2 separate regions of the Homo sapiens genome follow, and region 2 is linked to region 1. Evidence: promoter capture Hi-C in 16 types of primary human blood cells and fetal thymus (Javierre and others, 2016). All regions are on one chromosome and are shown on one strand. Each heading gives the region's core, a stretch centred on a gene start or on the middle of the fragment in contact. The rest is flanking DNA. Distances are from core to core; before and after follow the strand shown.

Region 1 (2,866 bases), core at 223-2,722:
TTATCTCTTACAACTTCATGTGAATCAACAATTATCTCAAGGCTGGACGCAGTGGGTCATGCCTGTAATTCCAGGACTTTGGGAGACCGAGGTGGGCGGATCACTTGAGGCCAGGAGTTCGAGACCAGCATGGCCACCAAGACAAATTCCTGTCTCTACTAAAAATACAAAAATTAGCCAGGCTTGGTGGCACATGCCTGTAATTCCAGCTACTCTGGAGGCTGAGGCGGGAAGATTGTTTGAACCCGGGAGACAGAGGTTACAGTGAGCCAAGATCCCACCACTGCAGTCCAGCCTGGGCAACAGAGTGAGACTCTGTCTCCAAAAAAACCAAACCAAACAAACAAAAAAAAGCCCCACATATTTCAAAAAATTTTATTTTAAGAAAAACAAAAAAACCTACTTTCAATTAAAAAACACAGTGGTTATGTTAATGCATCACCACATTCCTAGAGAAGTATTAAGGCAATGTATGTAAGTAAGTACATATACTCAGGTGCATTGATAATACGATTTATGTATACTTTCAGCAACAACACAAGGGGAGAGAAGATGATTTACTAGCTCTCCTCATAAAGCTACAAACAAAACCACAGATGTAACTCAGGTGGGAGTTTCCTAGTTTATGGCTAACTTTAGCTTATTAACACGACAAATATTATCATTTTCACTGAAAAATTTGACATTTTTTGTTGACTCAGCCAATCCAAGAAGCTTAATTAATATATAGTCCCTGCCCTCAAGAGACTTCCAATATAGTTGGAAGAGACCAGGCAAACACAAAGAAAGCTAACAATGCAATATATACCACAAGGCAGCATATAATTAGTTTTCGAATGAGTGCTAACAGACCTTGAGACCACTGGTTAAAATGTTTATATATCTATATAGATATACATAAATGGTAAATATGTTTTTTCATTTTCAAAAACTTTTTTTCCGTTTTCAAAAACTGTGAACCACCACTAGCAGACACCCTATAACAAGGCCCACTGTTCATTTTTAAATTACACATATAAAATGTTTCATTCAGAAAGCAAACCTGAAGCCCTTCAGCCTCCTCCACACTCACAATTCAAATTATATAGAACCTACGAAGCTGGTTAGAAAGCAGGTAATCTCAGAAAAAAGGGTGGGGGTGACAGCAGAAACAACCAGGGATCCACAAGGTCATACCAAAGGGGTGGTCGGAAAGGAACCTGGGGAAGGGAGAGAAGGCTGGAACGCTTACTTACTTCTTGTTATCAGTGTAGAAGCGTGTTTGGAGCTGAGCCATGGCGAGGAGTACACACGACTTGCCCACGGAAACGTACGGGTTAGCAGACCCACAACACGAAGCTCCTGCCTTTTAAGACTACAAAGAGGCAGCTCAAAATTAGACTGCACAGGTAAGCGAGGAACTGCAGTCTAAGCCTGGACTCTGCCTTCTGCCCTCCGGTCTCCTCTGCAGAAAGCACGAGGTTGCCCTTCTACAGACGCCCAGACCACAAACATCGACTACCTACTCCTAGATTTAGGAGTCATCGATTAGAAAAGGATAGTCGTAAAGGTAGCATGTCCCTTTAATCATTGTTAGAATTCTTCCCATACGTGTGGGCCCGTAATCGATTAGGAAAAAGATCCCACTCAAATCCGCTTTATTAATAAAAAATTTTTTTTCAAGAGGCTGTCCTGAGCCTGGATAGTTCAAACACAGCTCCTAGTTACTACAAGTCTCAGAAAGCATCGCTTCTCAAACGCTGTGACCACCGGGAATTGTAGTCTTTTTTTGCCACGCTGCCCTCAGAGTATCTTATTTGCATTAAATCCTCTAGACTCCAGCCAGATATCAAATTTCCTCTGCCTTCAGCTTTGCTTGACTAACGCCTTGCCAGTTTTTTTTTCTCATACATATTCCCAACCAGAGGCTCACTCGGCAGAGGTTTTTCCTAAATCTCGCCTCTAACTGCGGCTTTTAGAGAGAGGCGAGAGGCGGAAATACAAAGAAAAGAACGGATGAGAGAGGAAACGGTCGACGGTGGCCGATAGTGGTCCTACTGTCGTGGGACTGCTCTGCGCGCTCCCGGTGGGGCGCGCCTGCGCATTATGCTGGTCTCCATGGCGGGGCCTCGGAGCCAAGACGAGGTTGAGTAGACTCGTTTTGAATTTTCTCCCCTCTGCTCCGGCGGACTTCCCATGTCGCCTTGTGGGGCTATCGGCGGCGGCAGGACTGGGGGAGTCAGAGGTCTGGCAGCGCTGTCTGCGCAGACCTACCGGACGCTACCTCCCAACCCCCCGTCTTCCTCCTGCCTCCTCCTCCTCCCGTCACCTCCTGACCCGCCGGAGCTCCGAGCAACTGCCGGCCTCCGCCCCCAGCCGCAGCCGGTCACTGGCGGCGCCTTCCGCGCCAAGCTTGGGGGCCTTTTCGGGGTCCCACATGGCACGGCTTCCGACCCCCGGCCCGGGACGGGGCTCGCAGGCCCCAGAGGGGCAGGCTGGAGAAGGAGGAGGTTAGGTGTCTTCAGGAGGGTTGCTGAGCCCAAGGACGCGCCATCGCCGCGGAGAAGGAGCCGGACCCCTTGGGCGGAGCGCCCAATGTGTGGTCCCTCACGCCGTCCCGCACCTTGCTTTTTAGGGTTCTTTTTCCGCTTTCTGAGCCCTTTTATACCTTACGTTTAGAAGGGGAAAATCATCCTCCCACACCTTCTCCCCGACTTTTTGCCTTTTTTGTCTTGAAGTTACCCAAAGGCCTGTGTATTGTTCTCAATGGTCCCAAGAATTACTCTAATATAGTTGTTTTTCTGAGGGAGGATGGATGGAGATAACTATCCTGATCCCAATGTCACTTTTTAAGGCATTCGCTTCAAGAGACAAGCAGTTTAGAATC
Region 2 (2,700 bases), core at 143-2,642, 1.0 Mb after region 1:
GTTGGGAGTGAATGACATTGGTTTGATGTCTTTGATGAATCGATGGGTATGGAAGCAAAGGCCTGAAGAATGGTGGAATATCTGCCAAAGAAGGTAGGCTAGAGTGGTGAGGAGGGGAAGCACAGACAAAATGATGGCTCCTGGCAGTAGAAGGAAGAGTTAGTTTGGGGAATTTGGAGAACTTCATGTCATTCAACGTGATGGAAACATTTGGTACAGAAGGAAGAAAGAACAAATGTGGCAAGAGATGAGGCCGAACTGGGGAAGGAGTTGCCCTTCATAAGGAATCTTGAAGGGGTGTGGGCCTTACCTAAGAGAGGAAGCCAGTGGAGGATCCTGGGTGGGGCGGGGACACAGATGAATTCTATTTACATTTTACAAAGATTACTCTGGTTGTAGCATGAAGACAGACCAAAATGGGACAAGGGTGGGAATAGAAATGACAGAGGCCTGATCTAAGTCAGTGACCTTGGCAAGCGAGGAGGAAAAAATACTTGAGAGACAGTTAGGAAGTAGAGTAATTGGGGTTTATCGGTGAATCAGCAGGAAAAGGGAGAAGGCTGGTTGGTGGTACCACTCAACAGTATAGGCAAGGTAGGAGTTGAAGCAATTGTGATTAGGAAGGACCTCTCACTTTTGATGCTTGTCCCTTTCAGAATGGCAAACCAAGCTTAGGTGAAGCCTAGATATTTGGGGGTTACTTTCTAACCCTATTGCTTGGACTCAACCATGCTGGTGTCTGAGCTCCTCTACTCAGACAAATGTTGCTTTCAGTAAGTTGCAAGCAAAGCAAAAGAAAGACATTCACCTACGGCCCTTCAGAAAAGCAAGCATGCTGCATGATGAACTCTGGTGCCCAGGAGGCAAGAAATAAAAAACACTTTTAATGTAACCAACTTTCCATGCCCCACCCTCACCCCAGGCGTCTGCATACACAAATCAAAACCATCTTAAGTCATGGAATGAAAAAAAATTAAAAGCAAACTAAAAGCACTTCCTGTGAGGTGAATGGAAATTTTTGCCCAGTTAATTTTCCAGGCACGTGAAAGCAGTTCTGAATATTTTAAACCACAAGTACTTGTATTCTTGACCAAGATTTTTGAGAAGGCGAGGCATGGGAAGGATCATTGAAACAGGACTTTGACATAAAACATTGTTTACATAGAAGTGAGCTCTTCTCCACTATCGGATCAATTTACCACCCAGTGTCTGACAAACTGAGAAGCGAGAGGGTTGGGAAAAAGCAAAGAGATACATATCAAACAAAACCACACATATCCAGTTGAACTAAAGCTGAATTTAACCATAACTTGTGCAACTTTTCTCCCCTTGAGGTAGAAACATTACACCTCCAATTGACCAGGACATCTTTTTTTGCATTCAAATTATCTTGGAATTTCCTCTAGGACCTAAGTATCCTTCCACCATGAAAATAGGAGACCAAAAAAAGTAATGCTTCCAGTAATTTCTAGCCAAATAAATGAGGATAAGTGTGTGAGTGTGGTGGGGTAGTTAAGAGTTTGGAATCCAGAGTTTCACTGTCTGGATTTGAACAGGCTCCGTTGCTCATCAGCTCTGTGACTCCGGGCAAATGACTGAATCTCTCTAACTCTCAGTTTTCTCATCTATGAAATGAGAATAAGTAACAGACTCTCCCTCGCTGAGTTGTTTGAGAACGGGATCAGACAATGCACGTGGAGCCCCGTGTCTGGCACACACTATGTCCTCATTGCATATTTATTATTAGGTTTCTGCTTTGTATTTTTCTCTGTGCAACAGCCCTGAGCTCTAGAACTTATGACAGCTTTTCTCAAGTGAAGTTAAAGTTCCCCATACTCAGTTCCAGAGCTAGGCCTCACCTAGGTTGGAAGAAGTCAATTGTTCTCCACTGCCTGCCTGTGTGCTGGGAAAGGACTCTAGCACAGTGCCGGTGGGGCTGGAAGCCTTTCCTCATGATGCTACGGGGAGTACAGTGAAAAGGGAGGAGATTGGGGTAGCAAGGTCCCAGGGGTCCTGGCAGCCCAGGCTCTACTTCTCAGGCTAGCTCAGTCCCTCAAACAGCTTCCTTCACACCCACTGCTGAGACCCAGGAGCCCTACAGAAGGTAGCTAGGGGAAGCTTCAGCAGCTAGGGGGATCCCTGCAGGATCAGCCTCCTCCTTACCTTGCAGACCCCTTGGCTGTGGTCTGGCATTCCTAGTGGCTGGCCTAAAGCCCCAAACCTGGAATCTGTTTCAGAGCCTGGACCTTTTGGACTCACACCTTGGTTTCCCTGGCCAGCTGATTTCAGCTTCTCATCTAAATGTCATTTCTGCAGGCTAAGGGAAGTCCAGCCTGGATCTAGCATCTTGGAAGCGCGTTCAGACTTCTGGATGGAGGGATCAGCAGGCCTTGGTATTGGTGGTTCTACCTGCTTCGGTTAAGAGTGAGGACTCTGGAGCCAGACTCTCTAAATCATAGCACTGACACTTACTATATGACTTGGGCCAGGTTCGTTACCTGTCTGTGCCTCAGTTTTCCTCATCTGTAAAATGGGAGATTAGTGGTCACCATTGGGATGATTAAGAAGATTAAATGAGTTAATGTATGTATAAACTATAGTTATAATGTAAATATATATACAAACAGTAACCATTTACATGCATATAAAACATAATATAAATGTAATATTAGCTATATTCATATATAAAAATAGGTATAT

The links. Contacts are between HindIII fragments. The CHiCAGO score rates a contact against its expected background, and 5 or more counts as called.
Region 2: a fragment that was not itself captured here is called in contact with the fragment with the promoter of WDR12 in region 1 in 1 of 17 cell types (fetal thymus); the score reaches 6.1 in fetal thymus.

The regions. Positions count from the first base shown.
Region 1 is chr2:202,910,201-202,913,066 of GRCh38, forward strand. It overlaps WDR12 (WD repeat domain 12), which reads right to left and starts at 1,473. Exons shown (of 13, transcript NM_018256.4): 1 at 1,236-1,473. The coding sequence starts at 1,276. CARF (calcium responsive transcription factor) reads left to right here and starts at 2,075. Exons shown (of 17, transcript NM_024744.17): 1 at 2,075-2,866. RefSeq lists enhancers at 1,656-1,805, 1,816-1,965, 2,006-2,205, 2,306-2,355. The HindIII fragment of the contact is 1,677 bases long and covers 713-2,389 here.
Region 2 is chr2:203,933,271-203,935,970 of GRCh38, forward strand. All of the region lies in intron 3 of LOC101927840 (a long non-coding RNA gene), which reads right to left. Among named protein-coding and RNA genes, the nearest start is that of ICOS, 2.1 kb to the right of the region's middle. The HindIII fragment of the contact is 1,448 bases long and covers 669-2,116 here.